Regions from separate parts of the Homo sapiens genome. Here regions 1 and 2 are each linked to region 3. The links are contacts of gene promoters, found by promoter capture Hi-C in blood cells and fetal thymus (Javierre and others, 2016). All regions are on one chromosome and are shown on one strand. Each heading gives the region's core, a stretch centred on a gene start or on the middle of the fragment in contact. The rest is flanking DNA. Distances are from core to core; before and after follow the strand shown.

Region 1 (3,059 bases), core at 533-3,032, 250 kb before region 3:
GAATACTGATTTTTTAAAATCACTGTTTTTAAACCTTTTTATCATGAAATATTATACATATTTTGAATAACGCCACTATAAATATTCTTGAATGCATCTCCTGTTGTACATGTGCACATATTCCACGTGGGCATATATATTTCCATGAGTGGACTCACTGTGTCATATTGCCTGCATGTCTTCAACATTACCAGTTAGGGCCAAAATACTTTCCAGCACAGTTGTAGCAATTCCCACCTCCTCCATCAGCAGTATGAGAGTTCTTGCACCATATTCTCTTCAACACTTGGTATTATCAGTCTTTTTCATTTAAGACTTTCTAGGGGTTGTGTAATGCTATCCTTTGTGGTTTTAATTTGTATTCCCTGGCTACTAAGAAGGTTAAACCTTTTTTTATGTTTATTAAAGCCTTGGATTTCCTCTTTTGTAAAATGAATGCTTCACCCATTTTTCTACTAGGTGGTCTCTTTTTTTCTTATTGGTTTGTACAAGTTCTCTACATCTTCTAGCTGAGCCCTTTGTTGATAATGTATGTTGGAGATATCTTCTACTCTGTGACTTTCCCTTTGTTCTCTTTTAATGCTGTGTTTTAAATGAATAGTAGTTCTAAGCTTTGTTGTAGAAAGACTTATCAATTTTCATGGTTCATGTTTGAGAACTATTTTCCTAATTCAAGGTCATGAAGATAGCCATCTGTATTATCTTCTAAAGGCTTTATAGTTTTTGCCTTTCACATTTAAGTCTATAATACATCTGGAATTTATATATACTTTTGAAATGGGATCTCACTCTGTCACCCAGACTGGAGTACAGTGACACAAACATGGTTCACTGCAGCCTCCACCTTCCAGGCTCAAGAGATCTTCCAGCCTAGCCTCCTGAGTATCTGAGACTGCAGGTGCTTGCCACCCCACTCAGCTAATTTTTATATGTGTGCTATATATTTTATTTTTTTGTAGAGACCGAGTCTCGCCATATTGCCCAGGCTGGTTTTAAACCTGGACTCAAGCAATCCTCCTGCCTTGGCCTCCCAAAGTGCTGGGATTACAGGCATGAGCCACTGCACCTGGCCTTGGAATTGATTTTTTTTTTTTTGAGATGGAGTCTCGCTTTTGTCACCCAGGCTGGAGTGCAATGGCGTGATCTCAGCTTACTGCAACCTCCGCCTCCCAGGTTCAAACAATGTTATTGTTTTGGCATGTAATGTGAAATAGAGCTCAGATTTTACTTTATTTTTTCTATACACAACCTTGTCTTCTTTTCTTTCTTTCTTTTTTTTTTTTTTTTTTTTTTTTTAGATAGGGTCTTGCTCCGTCACCCAGGCTGGAGTGCAGTGGCACAGTCATGGTTCACTGCAGCCTCAGCTTCCCAGGTTCAGGTGATTCTCCCACCTCAGCCTCCTGAGTAGCTGGGACTACAGGCACACGCAACCATGCCTGGCTAATTTTTTGTGTTTTTTGTAGAGATGGGGTTTTGCCATGTTGTCCAGGCTGGTCTCAAACTCCTGAGCTCAAGTGATCCACCTGCCTCAGCCTCCCAAAGTGCTGGGGTTACAGGTGTGAGCCTCCACGCCCAGGCCCTGGCAACATTTGTTGAAAATATTTTTCCTCACTATCTGCCTGGACACCTTTGGCATAAATCAGGTGACTGTATATGTGGGTCTGTTTCTGTACTCTTTTTTCTTTTTTTGAGACTGAGTCTCACTCTGTTGTCCAAGCTGGAGTGCAGTGGCCCGGTCTTGGCTCACTGCAACCTCCGCCTTCCAGGTTCTAGTGATCCTCCTGCTTCAGCCTCCCAAGTAACTGAGACTACAGTCACGTGCCACCATGCCCATGTAATTTCTGTATTTCTAGAAGAGACGAGATTTCTCCATGTTGGCCAGGCTGGTCACAAACTCCTGACCTCAAGTGATCCACCTGCCTCAGCCTCCCAAAGTGCTGGGATTACAGGCCTGATCCACTGCACCCGGCCTGTACTCTATATTCTGTTGCAATGGATTATTTGTCTATCCTAGCACCAGGACAACAATGTCTTAAATTTCCATTGCTTTGTAAGTCTTGAGGTCTTGTAAAGCATGTCCTCCCACATTGCTTTAACTATTCAAGAGTGTCTTGGCAGGCCGGGCACAGTGGCTCACGCCTACAATCCCAGTGCTTTAGGAGGCTGAGGCAGGTGGATCACTTGAGGCCAGGAGTTCTAGACCAGCCTAGGCAACATAGGGAGACCCCTGTCTCTACAAAATACAAAAAAAAAAAACAAAACAAAAAAAAAACGAAGCAGCATATGGTGACGTATGCCTGTGGTTGAGGCTGCAGTGGGCTGTGGTTGCGCCACTGCACCCTAGCCTGGGTGACAAAGTGAGACCATGTCTCTGAAAACAAGATACAAAATAATTTTTTTTAAACGCCTTAGCTATTCCTGGCCATTTGCACTTCCACAGAAATTTTAGAATTGGTTTGTCAGATTTTACAAAAATCCTGTTGTGATTTCAATTGGGATGGCATTGAATGTATTGATTTCTGCTTTTTAAAGATTTTTTCTCTTGGGCTTTACTCTATTGTTATTTTTATAATGTCTTTATTTCAATGCTTAATGCATGGAATTTTGGACTTTATTCTTTTGTAATATGAGCACTGGAGACCCTAATTTCCACTTTAGTTACCATTTCTTAATCCAATAAATTCTTACATGTACTGATTACATTGATATTGAGTGTATCTTCTTAGACGATCAGTTATTTTGAACTGTATTTTTAAACTTTAAAATGATGATTTCAGAAAAGTTTCGTCTTATTACTGATTTCTGACTTAAATACACTTGGTTTAGAGATGGTCTGTAAGAGATGGTTTCTGTATCGTCTCTATCTGTGTGCCCTTCCTGGTTCGTCTCATCTGTTTCCCAGCTCTATATGAGAACTCCCAAATCTTACCTCTATAATAGCCCAAAAGCTTATTGTATAACTCCCTGCATGTTTTACCACCTTTATTTCAACATGGACAAAATGTAACATTATGTTTCATTCTCTTCCCCACTCCCTTCCTAATCTACTAGCCCCTCTC
Region 2 (3,377 bases), core at 541-3,040, 200 kb before region 3:
GAGGTCAGGAGTTCGTGACCAACCTGGCCAACATGGTGAAACCCTGTCTCTACTAAAAGTACAAAAATTAGCCAGGCGTGGTGGCACGCACCTGTAATCCCAGCTGCTCAGGATGCTGAGGCAGGAGAATCGCTTGAGCCCGGGAGGTGGAGGTTGTGGTGAGCTGAGATCGCACCACTGCACTCCAGCCTGGATGACAGAGTGAGACTCCATCAAAAAAAAAAAAAATCAAGATAAAACCGGAGAAAGCACTGAAGTTTGAGTGTGATATTAAGATGTGTGACTTTGGTATCTGAAGCATGTAGACCTTCCGTCCTTATTTTCAAAGAGCTAGGAACTCTAAAAAGAGATTCCTAGAAAGTGTTGCACAAGCATACCCTTTGACCTGAATTCCTGGGCTCTTATTTCCCCTATTTTCCATATGTCCAGTTCTTGCCCAGTACTTACCTGAGTAACCATGGCCTGAGGATTCCTCCTCTAATATCCACAGCTCTTCTCCTCGCTCCAACTTGAAGATCATCTCTGGTTTGGCCACGCAGAGGCCTGTTAATGGGAAATGGCACAGGACGTGGGCCAAGTTGTCTGAGCTCTAGGGCCTCTGATGGAGGAGGAAGGTGCATCTTCATGAGCTGCACAAGGAAGGGGGCCCATTTAAACCTTTCATTGGGGAAGTAAGAACGCACACATTTTTTCTGGTGCCCTAAACTGATTACTCATCTGTGACTCTTAATATCATTAAACCCTCGCAAGGCTGCACATGTTACAGCAACCAAGAAAGGAAACACACGCTCTCAGGAGTTACACGGACAATCATCCTCACCCACAGATGCCAGGTTGCTGTAGGTCTCCAGCATCACATCCTTGTGCATGGTCCTCTGAGCAGGGTCCAGTCTGTGCCACTCCTGTCGGGTGAAATCCACAGCCACATCCTCGAATGACACGGACCCCTGTAATAACAATCTCCAATGATCAGAATGGGATGCATGAAAAAGATGTGCAGGAACTAATCTTCTCAATGGAGCCCTGTTGAAAGTTGACTAAATAGAGCTACACTGGATACCTGATTTTGTGTCTCGCTTGATATACTTTTGGGGTGGGGGGTACCTGGAACAGCTCTGTTACTGTGTTAATTTATTAATGCATGAAAAAAAGATCACTGCACTCCTGAGTTAACACTATGTGCCTCAGTAAGCATATTTCTGGAAAACCAATGAAAAAACAAACACTATGTGCCTGGACGTGTGCAAGTTGCTGGGTTAAAAAATGAAGAAGGAGGCTGGGCGCGGTGGCTCACGCCTGTAATCCCAGCACTTTGGGAGGCCAAGCTGGGTGGATTGCCTGAGATCAGGAGTTCAAGACCAGACTGGCCAACAGAGATGGGGTGAACCCCATCTCTACTAAAAATACAAAAATTAGCTGGGTGTGGTGGTGCACATCTGTAGTCCCAGCTACTCAGGAGGCGGAGGCAGGAGAATCACTTGAACCCAGGAGGCGGAGGTTGCAGTGAGCCAAGATCACACCACTGCACTCCAGCTCGGGCAACAGAGCAAGACTCCGTCTCAAAAAAAAAAAAAGAAGCTGGCTGGGCATGGTGGCTCATGCCTATGATCGTAGCACTTTGGGAGGCCGAGGCAGGCGGATCACTTGAGGTCAGGAGTTCGAGACCAGCCTGGCCAACATGGTGAAACCCTATCTCTACTAAAAATACAAAAAAAAAAAAATTAGCCGGGCATGGTGGCAGGTGCCTGCCATCCCAGCTACTTGGGAGCCTGAGGCAGGAGAATCACTTGAACCCGGGAGGTGGAGGTTGCAGTGAGCTGAGATTGCGTCACTGCACTCCAGCCTGGGCGACAGAGAGACCCTGTCTCAAAACAAAGAAACAAAATATATTTATACTTATAAATGATACAGAAGTGCTGTTCTGTGGGAGAAAGGGAGACAGTATTGCTCCCAGGATAACTGCATGAACAGCTGGGATGAGGCTGGAGCCATGTATAGACATTAGCAAAACAGGAGAGACAATGAGTTCATGGAAGAAAAACTGAGATAGACTTTGGAGTGTTTATGGAACATACTGACAGAGATGTCCAGCTGGAGCTCAAGAGAGAAGGCTAGCAGAGGCCAAGGTTTGGGGGGTAAGATCATTCCAGTACTAGCTGAAACCACCAGAATAAATTGGATAGCTAAGAAGGAGCACAGTTTGAGAGAAGCACCAAGTACAGAGTTTGAGGGAACACCAATATGCTATGAAGGTTGCAGAGTAAATTCCTGATATGGTTTGGATCTGTGTCTCCACCCAAATCTCATGTTGAATTGTAATCCCCAGTGTTGGAGGTGGGGCCTGGTGGGAGGGGATTGGATCATGGGGGTGGTTTCTCATGATTTAACACCATCCTCCCTTGGTGCTGTCATCGCCATAGTGAGTTCTCATGAGATCTGGTTGTTTAAGAGTGTGTGGCACCTGTGCCCCAATTCCTCCTGCTCTGGCCATGTAAGATGTGCCTGCTGTCCGGGCGCAGTGGCTCATGCCTGTAATCCCAGCACTTTGGGAAGCTGAAGCAGGTGGACAGCTTGAGCCCAGGAATTTGAGCAGACTGGGCAACATGGTGAAATCCTGTCTCTACAAACAAACAAACAAAAATTAGCTGGGCATGGTGGTGCATGTCTATAATCCCAGCTACTTGAGGGGCTGAGGCAGGAGGATCACTTGAGCCCAGGAGGTTGAGACTGCAGTGAGCCAAGATCACACCACTGCACTCCAGCCTGTGTGACAGAGCGAGATCCTATCTTACACACACACACACAAAGATATGCCTCCGGGCACGGTGGCTCACGCCTGTAATCCCAGCACTTTGGGAGACTGAGGTAGGTGGATCACCTGAGGTCAGGAGTTTGAGACCAGCCTGGCCAACATGGTGAAACCCCATTTCTACTAAAATACAAAAATTAGCGGGGCATGGTGGTGCACACCTGTAATCCCAGCTACTCAGGAGGCTGAGGCAGGAGAATCAGGAATCACTTGAACCCAGGAGGCGGAGGTTGCAATGAGCCGAGATCGTGCCCTTGCACTCTAGCCTGGGTGACAAGAGTGAAACTCCGTCTAAAAAAAAAAAAAAATTTCTTCCTTCTTCCTCTTTGCCTTCTGCCATGGATTGGAAGTTTCCTGAGGCCTCCCCAGAAGCCGTTATGCTTTTTGTACAGCCTGCAGAACCATGAGCCAATTAAATCTCTTTTCTTTATAAGTTACCCAGTCTCAGGTATTTCTTTATAGCAATGCAAGAACAGACTAATACAATTATTAGATGGTAGAAATAGAACCAGGAAAGTGTGGGGTGTTGGAAGGTAGGAGGGGAGACACTTTCAAGTAACAGTGCCAT
Region 3 (3,079 bases), core at 1-2,500:
CAGGGCATTGGCCACGCCATCTAGGTTTTGGAAAAAATCGTCATCATAGATGCGCTCCGTGTCAGGACCCACACGGTTCTGGTGGCTTGTCACCCGGATATGTGGATTCATTTGGCGCACAGCTGCAGCAGCCGTGTCAGACTTTAACTTCTAAAGGGTTAAGAAAGTGCAGTTCCAGGGTGGGGATGGGGGAACAAAGCTCACTTATTTGTGCATTCACCCAACAAACATCTTTATTTTTTTTGAGACAGGGTCTCTCTCCATCACACAGGCTGGAATGCAGTGGCATGATCACGGCTCACTGCAGCCTCAACTTCCCAGGCTCCAGCGATCCTCCCACCTCAGCCTCCCGAGTAGCTGGGACCACAGGTGTGTGCCACCATGCGTGGCTAATTTTTGTATTTTTGGTAGAGACAGGGTTTTGTCATGCTGCCCAGGCTGGTCTTGAACTCCTGAGCTCAAAGACCTCGGCCCCACAAAGAGCTGGGATTACAGGCGTGAGCCACCGCACCTGGCCCAAACACCTATAAAGGGCTGTCTGCCTGAGACTGATTTACTTAATGCTGGGGAAGACCCAGGCCCTGAGTTAGGAGGCTAGCAGGAGAGACGGTCTGTGACAATGCCACATGGCCAGGATGATGATGCATGTGGCAGGGGCTCAGCATAAAGGGAAGCTGTGGACAGGAACAGACTGGAGACAATGGGCCAGACATCTGTTCTTTCGTCTAACACCTGCTATTTTTTCAGGTAACAGCACCCAGGATTGATGCAGACTCCCCCAACCACCACCAGGATGCTGGCACACAGACAAGCAGGATCCTTTCAAAGCCCAAATTGGGCCACGTCCCTCCTCTGCTCAGAATCCTCCCCTGGATCCCACCTCCACTTACCGTAAAATGAGTTGGCTCCCTGACCCCTCCCACCTCAGGATCTTTGCGCAGGCTCTTCCACAGCAGAGGGCACTCTAGTCCCTCATATCCTTGAGGTCTTTGCAGAACTCAGGCCTTCCTTAACCATTGTCATCAATACTACAAACCATTCTCCCTGACACCCCGACTTCCCTTGTCTGGTTTTAGTTGTTTCCTTTGAGGAGCACTCATCACCAACATTAACTATATACCTCACGATCGTATTGTGTCTATTGTTTGCTGTCCGTTCCCCTCTCCCTCCAGGAATCTTGTTTTATTCCTTGGTATATCCCCAATACCTAAAACAGTACTAAAACTATCTGGTGAATAAATGAAATAAATGAAAGGGGGAATAAATCCTGGGTAAGCAAAAACGACACTGCTCCTTACAGAAAGCTTCTCAGAGAACCCTGCATAACCAACCCAGTTTCCATATGTGCAGAGAAGTGTAAGCCTAGGAGACTGAAACTACAACCCTTGGAAAGGCCTGCTTCCAAGGTCGGCTCCTTGGCTGGTGTCTGGGAACTTGGAATTCAGGAAGGTTCCCACCGCTCCCTACCTGGTATCAGTGGTTCACTGTGCCTAAACCGTTCATGCAAACAATACAGTTTACGCTGAACACCTTTCCTTCTGGGAGTCTGGAAATTTTGTTATGTGCCAGGAAGGGGGCGCCTACATGACCAGCCCCAAGTAAAAGAGGTGGTGCTGAGTCTAACAAGCTTCCCTGGTTGGCAACATTTCATGTCTTGTTACACCTTGTTGCTGTTATTTCTGTAGTTACTGTTGCTACTGGGGAAATAAAGGCCGCCTTGTTTAACTCCCGCTGGGAGAAGACTCCTAGAAACTTGCACCAGCCTTTTCCCTTTGCTGATTTTGGTCTGTATCCTTTTGCTGTAATAAATTGTAGCCACAAGCACGACTATATGCTGAGTCCTGTAAGTACTCTAGGTGAATTGAGCTTGAGAGTAGTTTTGAGGACCCCAGACACACTGTCCCAACCAGCACTAAAAAGAGGTTAAGGCAAAAAAAAAAAAAAAAAAAAAAAAAAAACAGAAGCTGAGGGAAAGAAAGGCCAAAAAGAAGGGCTTCTGGCAGAGGCAGAAAGATCTCTGACAGAAAGAATGGGAACAAGAAAAAGGAGGGGTGAGGTGTGGTGGCTCACGCCTGTAATACCAACACTTTGGGAGGCTGAAGCAGGCAGATCACCTGAGGTCGGGAATTCGAGACCAGCCTGACCAACATGGAGAAACCCTGTCTCTACTTAAAATGCAAAATCAGCCGGGCGTGGTGGCGCATGCCTGTAGTCCCAGCTACTCAGGAGGCTGAGGCAGGAGAATCGCTTGAACCCAGGAGGCAGAGGTTGTGGTGGGCCAGAGATCACGCCACTGCACTACAGCCTGGGCAACAAGAGCGAAACTCCGTCTCAAAAAAAAAAAAAAAAAGAAAAAGGAGGAAAGTGAGACGACAAAGCCCCAACCTCCTACCCTACTCACCGTGACATCCCAGGGCCGGAAAAGAAACTGTCGATTCAGATTTGACTTCTCAATGGTGTCCATGTCTGTAACGATGATTTCTCCACCCTCCCCGCAGCCCAGCCCAATCATGGCAAAGTTCTTGAGCAGCTCACAGCCAATGGCCCCCGCACCCACCTAAGAAGCAACCAAGAAGACAGGCAGAGGCTGGTCAGGGTGATGCAGGTTAGTGTGAAGCTACCCATCACCCCTCACTCCCCTGAGAGACGGGGAGAGGGGCTAACACCACATCTTCAGGTTGCAGGACTCTAAGAAATGACACGCAGTCATGTGAGGAAGGAGGCACCAGAAGGGGAAACGAGGGATGCACTGGGCTTCCCTTCAAGATAAGGAGAATGGCAAAGAGAATGCGCCACCGGTTGCATTGAGATGCCGAAGGAAGCCCCAGGGGTGATGGCCAGAGGCCAAGATGAGGGGAGCAGACATCCAAGGGGACCACTTACCAGGAAATACTTCTGCTTGCCCAGCTTCTCTTGCAGGTCTGAGCCAAACACAGCCACTTGCCCGTCATAACGGTTCTGGCGCTAAGGAATGCAAAGGGAGGAGGGTTAGAGAGGCCTCCCCAGAAATGTCCCCAATGATGCCCTCCCCACAGGTCCCACCCACATACCTGGAGGCACTTGTCCTCTGTGAGGACCT

Evidence for each region. The method cuts DNA at HindIII sites, captures the fragments that hold promoters and counts their contacts. A CHiCAGO score of 5 or more calls a contact.
Region 1: a contact is called between a fragment that was not itself captured here and the fragment with the promoter of INE1 in region 3, in 2 of 17 cell types (naive CD8 T cells and naive CD4 T cells). The highest score is 5.2, in naive CD8 T cells.
Region 2: a contact is called between a fragment that was not itself captured here and the fragment with the promoter of INE1 in region 3, in 2 of 17 cell types (non-activated CD4 T cells and total B cells). The highest score is 5.6, in non-activated CD4 T cells.

What each region holds. Positions count from the first base shown.
Region 1 is chrX:47,457,980-47,461,038 of GRCh38, reverse strand. The region is part of intron 2 of ZNF41 (zinc finger protein 41); the gene reads left to right. Among named protein-coding and RNA genes, the nearest start is that of LINC01560, 23 kb to the left of the region's middle. The HindIII fragment of the contact is 2,337 bases long and covers 614-2,950 here.
Region 2 is chrX:47,407,846-47,411,222 of GRCh38, reverse strand. It overlaps ZNF157 (zinc finger protein 157), which reads right to left. Exons shown (of 4, transcript NM_003446.4): 2 at 821-947; 3 at 448-543. Among named protein-coding and RNA genes, the nearest start is that of SNORA11C, 21 kb to the right of the region's middle. The HindIII fragment of the contact is 6,293 bases long and covers 1-3,377 here.
Region 3 is chrX:47,203,019-47,206,097 of GRCh38, reverse strand. It overlaps INE1 (inactivation escape 1), which reads right to left and starts at 1,250. Exons shown (of 1, transcript NR_024616.1): 1 at 237-1,250. It overlaps UBA1 (ubiquitin like modifier activating enzyme 1), which reads right to left. Exons shown (of 26, transcript NM_003334.4): 12 at 3,051-3,079; 13 at 2,884-2,964; 14 at 2,402-2,557; 15 at 1-150. It overlaps LOC105373194 (a long non-coding RNA gene), which reads left to right. Exons shown (of 3, transcript XR_949047.4): 3 at 748-1,830. The HindIII fragment of the contact is 2,713 bases long and covers 1-1,306 here.